Linked DNA regions of Homo sapiens: region 2 is linked to region 1. The links are contacts of gene promoters, found by promoter capture Hi-C in blood cells and fetal thymus (Javierre and others, 2016). All regions are on one chromosome and are shown on one strand. Each heading gives the region's core, a stretch centred on a gene start or on the middle of the fragment in contact. The rest is flanking DNA. Distances are from core to core; before and after follow the strand shown. Region 1 holds the start of FBXO21 (F-box protein 21). Region 2 holds the start of RFC5 (replication factor C subunit 5).

Region 1 (5,249 bases), core at 927-3,426:
ACAGGTGTGAGCTACCGCATCCGGCTCAAGGATTTTTTCTATACCAGCCACTGTTCTATGCCCCTCACATGAATTTCCTCATTTAATTCTCATGACAGCCCCAGGAGACAGGCATTATTATTATTAATTATTATTCCCATTTTACAGATAAAAAACTGGGCCTCAGAAAGGCTAAGTAACTTCCCTAGTCAAACAGCTGGTTAGACTATCGCAATCAATAGATAATTGAGAATCTGCTCTGTGCAGGGCATGGGTCAAGTAACTAGGCTTCTAGAGGTGACTCAGACACAGTCCTAGCACTGAACTCCCTTCAGATTTAGTGGGAAAGATGCATGTTGAATAGTTGTAAGTTAAGTAATTACAAGACTGCAAAATGCTGGGCAGGAGCCATATCTGGTGCTGGTGCTGGGGCGGGGGAAGGGAGAGCATTTGGAAAGGTTAAGCTGAGCCCTGGAGGAAGAGGAGGAGCTACTGGAAGGGGAGGACTGCATGAAGTGCCTTGCAGGCAGCAGGAATAGTATATGTAGGGCCAGAAATGGGAGGAAAGAGATGACCAGCCTTGCTGGGGTATGCATGGCTAGTGAGAGAGAAAGACTTCAGATAGGTAAGAAGAGGTGGAGTTTGTTGCTTTGCAACAATGTTTGGGATGTCACATTCATTTCTACGGGAAATAGGGAGCCACAGATGGCTCAACGCCATCCATTGAGAGTCACTTTACTAGTTCAGCTCTCTCAGGGCATCTTGATTTCCAAGTTGCCAGGAGTACTTCATTGGACCCTCCATGTACTGACAACAGATCCTTCTAACTGTAATTGCACTTTGAGGTTTTGAAGCAAAGACTCCATTTTTCTCACCCCTGTATCCCCAGGGCACACAACACAGGGCTTTGGCACTGAACTAAACTGATTTTTTTTTTTTAATGTGCAGATCCTGAGACTACCCTCCCAATCCTGAGTGATAACTCCCGCTTTGAAGACTCAAATCCAGGCTTTAGCACTTTTGTCTCTGTAACTTTGAACCAGTGACTGCCACCTGGAAGAACTTTGCCTTTTCTGTAGAATAGGTATAACTGTGGTACCTATTGTGGGAGGTCAGACTATGCTCCCCAAATATGAAGGATTGTTGAGCTGGAAACAATTAAGAAACCAGTACAGGAGAGCTCTCTGCCTGCCCTCTATTAGCCTAAAATCAGGGCACACATTTGAGGATTATTATTACTCCCCTACACCATCATAGAGGGCTTCCCATAGCACCCACTCAAGAATATTGTTATTATTACATCATATGGTTAAGATTACTGACAAGCAAAAGTCAAGTGGATCTGAAATAGAATCCAAGACAAGGGGCTGGGCGCGGTGGCTCACGCCTGTAATCCCAGCACTTTGGGAGGCCGAGGTGGGTGGATCATTTGAGGTCAGGAGTTCGAGACCAGCCTGACCAACATGGTGAAACCCTGTCTCTACTAAAAATACAAAAATTAGCTGGCTGTGGTGGCGGGCGCCTGTAATCCCAGCTACTCGGGAGGCTGACGCAGGATAATTGCTTGAACCAGGGAGGTGGAAGTTGCAGTGAGCCGAGATCACGGCCACTGCACTCCAACCTGGGTGGTGGCGCGCGCCTGTAATCCCATCCGCACGGGAGGCTGAGGCAGGAGAATCGCTTGAACCCAGGAGGCAGAGGTTGCAGTGAGCCGAGATAGCGCCACTGCCCTCCAGCCTGGGTGAGAGCAAGACTCCTTCCCAAAGGGGGAAAAAAAATCCAAGACAAGGGATCCTGAGCAAGCCCTCTCACTCTCCGAACCTGTTTCCCCATCTGTAATATGGGGAGAAAGTTCGCAGGGTAATTCGGAAAGGTCCAATGCGCACAGAAAGCGCTCAGCACGCGTGAGAATAGATACCATTTTTATTTGTTAATTTTAAACATTAATTACGTTTAAAAGAATCAGTGCTACTATTGTTGTCCCGGACTAGAGGCGGCTTGCGCTGCCGGCTCCAAGCACAGAGCCCAATTATGTCCTCCCTTTTGCGGCGCTGCCACCCGCGCAGCCCCCAGCCGATGCAGGGGAGGTGTGGCCCGCGGATGGGCGGAGCGATCTCAGGACTCGCCCCCAAGACCAGTAGGCGGGGCCAGGCGGGGCGCCCGGGCACTCTCGCACGCGCGCGCGCGGCGGCCCCAGGTACGCGGACAAGATGGCGGCGGCAGCAGTCGACAGCGCGATGGAGGTGGTGCCGGCGCTGGCGGAGGAGGCCGCGCCGGAGGTAGCGGGCCTCAGCTGCCTCGTCAACCTGCCGGGTGAGGTGCTGGAGTACATCCTGTGCTGCGGCTCGCTGACGGCCGCCGACATCGGCCGTGTCTCCAGCACCTGCCGGCGGCTGCGCGAGCTGTGCCAGAGCAGCGGGAAGGTGTGGAAGGAGCAGTTCCGGGTGAGGTGAGCCAGCGGCCCCGCGCCCCGGCTGCGCGCCCACCGCCCCGCGCCCCCCGGGGCCGGGCAGCCGCCCCGCTAGCTCCCCGCGGCCGCCCCGCGCGCGGACCCCACCCCGGACCCCTTCCCGCGGACAGACAGACAAAGGCCTCCAGGCCCCGGACCCTGCGGGGCCACGCCAGGCGGACCCCCGGGTCCCCAAATGGCGCATCTAGGAGCGCCTCGCAGCCGGGTCCTCCGTCAAGGGTGACGCTGGCGGCGGCGCGGCTCGTCCCTTTTGCGCGCTTCTTTTGTGCCCGACTTCGGGCTGAAATGTTTACATGGACCCAGTGATGCATCGATCGGGCGGGCGCAGCATCCCCGGGCTGGTTGTGGACGGCACAGATTTCAGCGTGGCCCCAGGATGAAATCTGGCCCTGCACACTCCCTCTGTGACCTTGGGGGGAGCGACTTCCCTTTTTTTGAGCCTCGTTCATAGACTTTGAGTGGTGGTGATCATTAGACCTACCTTTCACCGTGTTTATTAAATTAGATGATGTCCGGGAGGCACGCACGCAGGGCCCCGGCTCCTAGGAGGCGCTCAATCAGTGCTCACTGTCATTGTCATTATTATTATTGTTGTTGTTGTTACAACTGTCCCCATTTTAGAGATGGGGAATGGAGACATCATTCATGCCGCTACGCCAAGGTCACACCGGGAGTGAGTGAGTGAATGCTGGTGGGGTTTTGAACTAGGTCTCTCGCCGGGGTCCCTCTTACCACTGGACGCCACTGCTGTCCCTGTTTCCAAGGCTGCCTTGGATTCGTGGCCGCCTGCCTTTGAGTTTCTGTTAAGCTGAGGGGGTGTTTCTCTCCTCGTAGGTGGCCTTCCCTTATGAAACACTACAGCCCCACCGACTACGTCAATTGGTTGGAAGAGTATAAAGTTCGGCAAAAAGCTGGGTTAGAAGCGCGGAAGATTGTAGCCTCGTTCTCAAAGAGGTTCTTTTCAGAGCACGTAAGGATCTGTTGATGTGGCTCTAAGCTTTGGCTTGCTGGTGTATGTGTCTGGGTCTGCAGGCATGAGCTCATCCAGCTCTTTTCGTATCTCCCTTTTCAATGCTCTCACAATCCCTTACTCACTTAGATGGCTGCAAGAGTCATTGTGTCCTTTTCCTCCTATCCAACAACACGAAGCCATTTGTCTGTGCCAGCTTTACTTTTCTAAAGCCAGAGAGAGAGTGGGGGTGGAGGGAGCAGGGAGGGACCCACGCAGCACAATGTAGACGGAGTCCAGATCAGCATTATTTCTCAAATGGGTTCAACGGATTTTTTTTGCAACCCCTCCGTTATTTGGGGAATCATCAATGATTGAACACTGTAAATTTCTCCCGGTTGTTTTCCCAGAAGGGTTGACGAAATTAATGTGGTTCTTCTCTCTGGCTTTGCAGGTTCTACCCAGTAGTGAACTGCATTATTTGTTAAGGTAACAGAGGATTAAAAGCTACCTATAAATCAGAGTTATTACTCCCTGAAATGAATTGTCTTGCATTCATTATCCCTGAAAAGTTTTTGGGTTTTTTTTTTTTTTTAAGTATTGCAGAAATACATGGTGGGTTTTTTTTGTTTTGTTTTGTTTTGTTTTCTTTTTTTCTTTCCTCAAAATGTCTCATGGAAGTTTCTTTCTTTTTTCTTTTTTTGAGACAGAGTCTTGCTTTGTCTCCCCGGCTGGAGTGCAGTGGCGCAATCTCAGCTCACTGCAACCTCCTACTCCTGGGCTCGAGCAATTCTCATGTCTCAGCCTCCCGAGTAGCCGGGACTACAGGCATGCGCCACCATACCTGGATAATTTTTGTATTTTTAGTAGAGTTGGGGTTTCACCATGTTGGTCAGGCTGGTCTTGAACACCTGGTCTCAAGTGATCCGCCGGCCTCTGCAAACCAAAGTGTTGGGATTACAGGCGTGAGCCACCGTGCCTGGCCTCACGGAAGTTTCTGTATCTGCCCCTGATCCCTTTTTGTAACTCTGGAAAATAATCCACACTAATGTTTTGAGTTCAACAAACTATTCGATATTTATTTCTGGTTGGGGTTCTAGAAATAGAGCCAATCTGATTTATTTCACTTTTTTGTTTTCCTAAAGACTCCTTTGGATTCTCTAATTTTAATTACTGTTAGTTAATGGAGTTAATAATTTGAAATGTTTTCAAGGCTTTTCAAGTTTTGAAAGGGAAAATTTGAACTTTGGACAAATTTGAATGTTTTCCCCTATGGAGAATACAAATAGACATTCCTTAGTGTAATTGGTTTCTATAAATATTTATTAGTGTTAGAATAAACAAAATTTGTATTTTACTTTGGAGAAGCCATGCCCTGGCTAAAAGCATTCATAATCACAAATTGTAAATGCTGATCTGAATGTGTTTGCACATACGTAGATTTTGGTACTAGCTATGTTTGGTGCAGTTGGTCATGGACTATGAGCCTGCAACCTCCATTTCTAGTCCAGCTGGTTTTGTGTATGTTTTGAACAGTCTGTGCCTCTGTGTAATAATGATGGATTGTTGTGTTTTTTCCTCAGCTCCCCCTTTTCCTGTACCACTGCTTAATTAGAAGTATGTCAAGGACTTTGAACACAGCGGGAGCATACTTAACATTAATCTGTGGGTGGGTGATTGCTTTGGCCCGGGATCTTGGCGTTCCTGTGTTCTCAGAATGCACACAGGTTGACCTGAAATGTTCTGGCTACTTGCAAAAAGAAAACTGAGAGAAGCCATAGAATTTTAAACTCAGAAGATCTTTTTTTTTTTTTTTTTTTTTTTTTTGAGACAGAGTTTCACTCTTGTTGC
Region 2 (5,249 bases), core at 999-3,498, 830 kb before region 1:
TGAGTGGCTGGGATTACAGGCGCCCACCACCATGCCCAGATAATTTTTGTATTTTTAGTAGAGACGAGGTTTCACTATGTTGGCCATGCTGGTCTTGAACCCTTGATCTCAGGTGATCCACCTGCCTAGGCCTCCCAAAGTCCTAGGATTACAGGTGTGAGCCACTGCGCCCGGCCCTCACCCTTTTTCTTTCTTTCTTTTTTTTTTTTTAGCCACCATCCTAGTTGTCCTTCCTGATCTCAATTTATTTTTAAATTCAAACTAGCTCATCCAGTCTTAGGGTAATCTAGCCAGTTCTCAGGAACTAAAAATGAAGTTAATGCTCCCTAAAGAACTTGGTAATGCAGGCTGGGCTCACGTATGTAATCCCAGCAGTTTGGGAGGCTGCGGCGGGCAGATTGCTTGAGCTCAGGAGTTCGAGACCAGCCTAGGCAACATGGCAAAACCCCATGTCTACTAAAAAATACAAAAATTAGTTGGGCGTGATGGCTCACGACTGTAGTCCCAGCTACTTAGGAGGCTGAGGCTGGAAGATCGCTTGAACCCAGGAGGTGGAGGTTGCAGTGAGCCGAGATCATGCTACTGCACTCCAGCCTGTACGATACAGGGCGACCCTGTCTCCAAAAAAAAAAGAAAAAAAAAACAAACTTGCTAATACAAGCGTAGATAACATTTTATTTTAACAGTTGCATTATAACGCTTCTTACTACCATCCCTCTCGTTTATCTCTTTTCCATGGTTGCTTTGGACAAAGTCACTTTTTTTTTCAACCCATATAAACTGGCTAAGGAGAGGATTAAAAAATTAACCCATATCATCTTACTAATCAAAATCAAGGGAGCGAAATTACACAAATAATTCTTACTTAAATATTGTCCTTGTGCTAGCAAAGCTCAGGATCGGTCCTCGAATGATGTCTATTCCTCGGTCATCTGAAGCATTCAGCTAAATGTGGAAGACAGAAGACAAAACAAAAACCATGTTGCTGTGCTATCTGTGAGTTCTTGGTGTTAGTGTATTTCCTCATCAGTCCAGCTCAGCAGGCTAGCTCTCTATGTCTAATGATGGCTAAGAGATCATCATAAAATAAAAAATCAGTTTTACACAAAATTCACTAAATTAATAAAGATGGCTATATTACCCCCACCCTTTGAGGACAATGACTGACATAAATTGGAGAAATAATTAATTGGTATGGTTACACTGAACAGCACCTCTGGTATGAGCAGAATGATACAAATTTCAGCTACCACAATCCTAAGTTACCAAGTTCTTAATAAACTGAAATAAGGACATTAGTAGCAGCAAAGTTCTGAGACCTGCGTCTAAAAAGTAAGTTAAACTTTTCTTGCAATAGACAATACTCAGATTTTTGAATCTAAGTATATTAGTCAAGGTCCCAGCAATATACAGATGGCATACTCAAATGCAGCAATTTGAAGAGAATTAAACAAGATCTTTTTAAAGGTGTGATATAGGAAAACCATGGGGCTATGCAATACCTGTCACCCTTGAGCCTGAAGGGCTTAGTGAAGGGAGTGGCTGTAGGCACCTGGAGAGGGCTGCAGGAAAGGTACCACCTGTGAGATGTACCCTACAGGTGGGCCATGCTGCCAGCCTGTGTCAGCCCCCAGGGAAGGCCCAGGCATCACTCACTTCCTTCCCCCACCCCTGCCAAGGCCCCTATTGGCCAAACCCAACCAGGAGCCAGAGGGTAAGTGAGCTTATAGTCAGTAGGGCTCAGCCTTCCAGGCAGGAATATGGTGGAGAAACGTGGAGAATTGATCTAGAGGGGCCATGGCAGACAGGCAGCAACCAAGTCACCATAAAGTAAGGTTTGGGGAGAAGTTGGCAAGAGCAAAGAAAAAGGTGCCAAACCCTACAACTGCCCTCTAGCTGACCAACGCTAATCCAGACCAAAATGACCATTATAGGAAAAAGGGAATTAAAATATTCAAATTTACTTCTTTCCTAACTGTCCGTGGGGCAACTTACTTTTAAAGTAAAATAAAACCAGCAGAACTGAAATTAAGAGACTGGAGTCTCTTAAGTTATTTGTAGAGTAAGAACAATCTTATTTACCTCCAAGACCATGGAGCCAAATTCTTTGTCTTTATATAGCTGTTTCGCACAGGCTAGGATGGTAGATGTCTTGCCTGTCCCTGGGGGACCGTAGAGAAGCAAGTGTGGCAGTCGGTCTTCATTGATAAACTTCTGAACTGAGGATCAGGAAGGAAGAAGGGCACCATCAGTCTTTGGGAGCTGCCTCATTCACCCTGGGCTCCTGAGTTGGGCTGAAAGCTCTTCAACCCAATTCAATGTCCAAATCAGAGGCAGATACAACTTGATGTAGGGGCCTCATATCTACTTTCGTGGAACAACTGGAATTCACTCAATAGCGCAGCCAGTCAACAAGTATTTATTGAGTGCCTACTGTGTTACAGGCACCTTTCTGGGTGCTGGCAACATCTGTGAACTTAAATGATTCTCCGTAATGCTATTTTTACTCCACTGTGTTGCAATTTTATGCTCATGTTTGTGACTTACCCACTGGACTGTAGCAACCTGAAGAAAATGAATGAATGATCTTAAAGCCACATTCTACAAAGCGCAATCAGATTCTTTGAAGTTATTACTTAGGAGAGACAACATCACCAAGCAATTTATACAAGTCGCTCAAGCAGGACAAGAGCAACTGACACATGAATACTTACTGGTACTCAGAATGTCCTGATGAGAAATGAGATCATTCAGGGTCTGTGGCCGGTATTTTTCAACCCTGAAATACAATTTAGTATGTATTATGACATATATAAATGCAAGAATATTTTATGTGCAAAAGAATCCTTGCAGGTCAGGCACAGTGGCTCATGCCTGTAATCCCAGCACTTTGGGAGGCCAAGGTGGGTGGATCATTTGGGGTCAGGAGTTCAAGACCAACCAGCCCGGCCAACATGGCAAAACCCTGTCTCTATGGGTACCTCCTAGGGTCTTTGTAAGGATAGAACAACTAACAGGGTGTCTGCTAACCCGATAATATGCCATTCAATAAAAAATACCAAAAAATACAAAAATTAGCTGGGCATGGTGGCATACCCCTGTAGCCCCAGCTACCCCGAAGGCTGGGGTGGGAGAATTGCTGGAACCCGGGAGGCGGAGGTTGCAGTGAACCGAGATTGCACCACTGCACTCCAGCACTCCAGCCTGGGCGACAGAGTGAGACCTTGTCTTAAAAAAAAAAACAGAATCCTTTCATATCCTAATTTAAAAAGGAAGAATAAGAAAGCACTTTAAGTTTGAACAGACCAGTGGTTCCCAACCACAGGTGATTTTGTCTTCCTAGGAACATCTAGTGATATCTAGAAACATACTTAGTTGTCACAGGTGGGCAGAGGGTCCTATGGCACTCAGTGTGTAGTCTCCAGGAATGCTGTTAAACATGCTACAGTGCACAGGACAGCTCCCCTAAACCCACCCAGAGTATCTGGCCCAAAATGTCAATAGTGCTGAGGTTGAAAACTCTGTTCTAACTTCATCTTTCCAGCTGTTTGCCTATAATCTCAACCTGATGGGCACCTACTATTGCAAAGTGCATTTGAAACTGAACTCCTACCCAAATAGACTTCAACAGAAGAATGGATAGGTAAAATCTCTTCTGTCCATACAATGGAATATGATTCAGCCATAACAAGAAATTAACTACTGATACAAGCAGCAACATGCATGAACCTTGAAAACATGATCCTGAGTGAAAGAAACCAGACACAAAAGGCCACATAGTGTAGGATTCCACTTACATGAAATGTCCAGAATAGGCAAATCCATAGATAGAAAGCAGATTAGTGGTTGCCAGGGGCTAGAGGAAGGGGAGAATGGGGAGTAACTGTCAATGGGTAAAGGATTTCCATTTGGGGTGATGAAATTTTGGAACTAGATAGCGGGAAGACTCCACAACAGTACACTGCATTCTGAATGTACTTAATGCCACTGAATTGTACATTTTAAAATGGTTACAGGATGGGCTTGGTAGCTCGCCTCTAAAAGTCCCAGTTCTTCGGAGGCTGAGGCAGGAGAATGGCTTGAACCCCAATGTTTGAGGTTACACTGAGCTGTGATCACACCACTGCGCTCCAGCATGGGCGACAGAGCGAGACCCTGTCTCTAAAAAAAAAAAATACGTAAATACATAAAATAGTTACAACTGTCAATCTTCTGGGTTTTTTTTAACCACAATAAAGACAAATTGAACTAGTTACTAGACAATGACAACTTGCAGCTTTTCGAAGCCAAGCCAAATTGCTTCAAAGTCTTGGAAGCATTGCGAGAACATAGCTGTTTAAGTAGGATGGTTAAGAGTACAAGATCTGAATTCAGACTTCCTAGATTCACCTCCAAGCCAATTTTCTCCCTTGGACCATAGGGAAGTCATTACATCTTTCTAAAATGCAGTTTCCTCCTGTGTAAAATTTGAAGCGGTGCCTACCTCCTACGGTCTTTGTAAGGATCGAACATCTAACAGGGCGTCTGCTAATCTAATAATATGCCATTCAATAAAAGTTGACCAGGGAGCGTTATTACTAGTTTAAAATGTGACCAATAGTCGCATCGCAGGTTTTGAAGAGTGGGAAGAGGGCATTTTGGCATGGAGGCCATTGCAGGCGTCAGGAGACGCGGGATCGAACCCCTGTGCTGTCACCAGGTGCGAAAGCCGCCTTCTTCTTCGGCAAATGGAGCTGGGGGTGAAAGGGTGAGAACTGGCAAAAGCCCTAAACAGAACGGACGAGTCTGGGTAGCTGGGGGGTGTCGGGGGAAACCTCTGCAGGTCGGTCCCGGCTGCAGGCCTGGAGACGACGGGAAGAGGTCGGGTTGGGGTCCGGTCACCTGCCACCCCAGCCACCTCCTCCCCGCGCGGCCGCCTGGCCCCCTCTGCCCACCGCCGCCGCTCGGCCTCCTCCTACCAGGGCAGGTTCCTGATCTTGGTCGCCGCGGGCTGCTCCTGCTGCTTGAGTGCTGAGGTCTCCATGGCGGGGAGACGAAGGTGACCAGATCCGCTGAGATCGTCGCGTCACCCAAGCGCCTGCACAGTGACCAGCCGCGACCTGACCCTGAGACCCTGGCACTTACAGTTCGCGCGCAAAAGCAACTCTCGCGAGACGCGGCCACCAGTTTCCGACTTCCTCCCTCGGTCCCGCCCCCTCGCGTTGCTAGGGCGTCGGTTGCTAGGTTACCGGAGGCGCGGGCCGCCAGCG

The links. Contacts are between HindIII fragments. The CHiCAGO score rates a contact against its expected background, and 5 or more counts as called.
Region 2: a fragment that was not itself captured here is called in contact with the fragment with the promoter of FBXO21 in region 1 in 1 of 17 cell types (non-activated CD4 T cells); the score reaches 5.3 in non-activated CD4 T cells.

The regions. Positions count from the first base shown.
Region 1 is chr12:117,187,397-117,192,645 of GRCh38, reverse strand. FBXO21 (F-box protein 21) reads left to right here and starts at 2,176. Exons shown (of 12, transcript NM_015002.3): 1 at 2,176-2,428; 2 at 3,284-3,419. The coding sequence starts at 2,190. RefSeq lists silencers at 1,960-2,019, 2,060-2,159, 2,440-2,489 and an enhancer at 2,960-3,049. The HindIII fragment of the contact is 6,345 bases long and covers 1-3,448 here.
Region 2 is chr12:118,016,602-118,021,850 of GRCh38, reverse strand. It overlaps RFC5 (replication factor C subunit 5), which reads right to left and starts at 5,148. Exons shown (of 11, transcript NM_007370.7): 1 at 4,959-5,148; 2 at 2,715-2,779; 3 at 2,083-2,219; 4 at 866-945. The coding sequence starts at 5,023. RefSeq lists a silencer at 4,857-4,906. The HindIII fragment of the contact is 6,314 bases long and covers 1-5,249 here.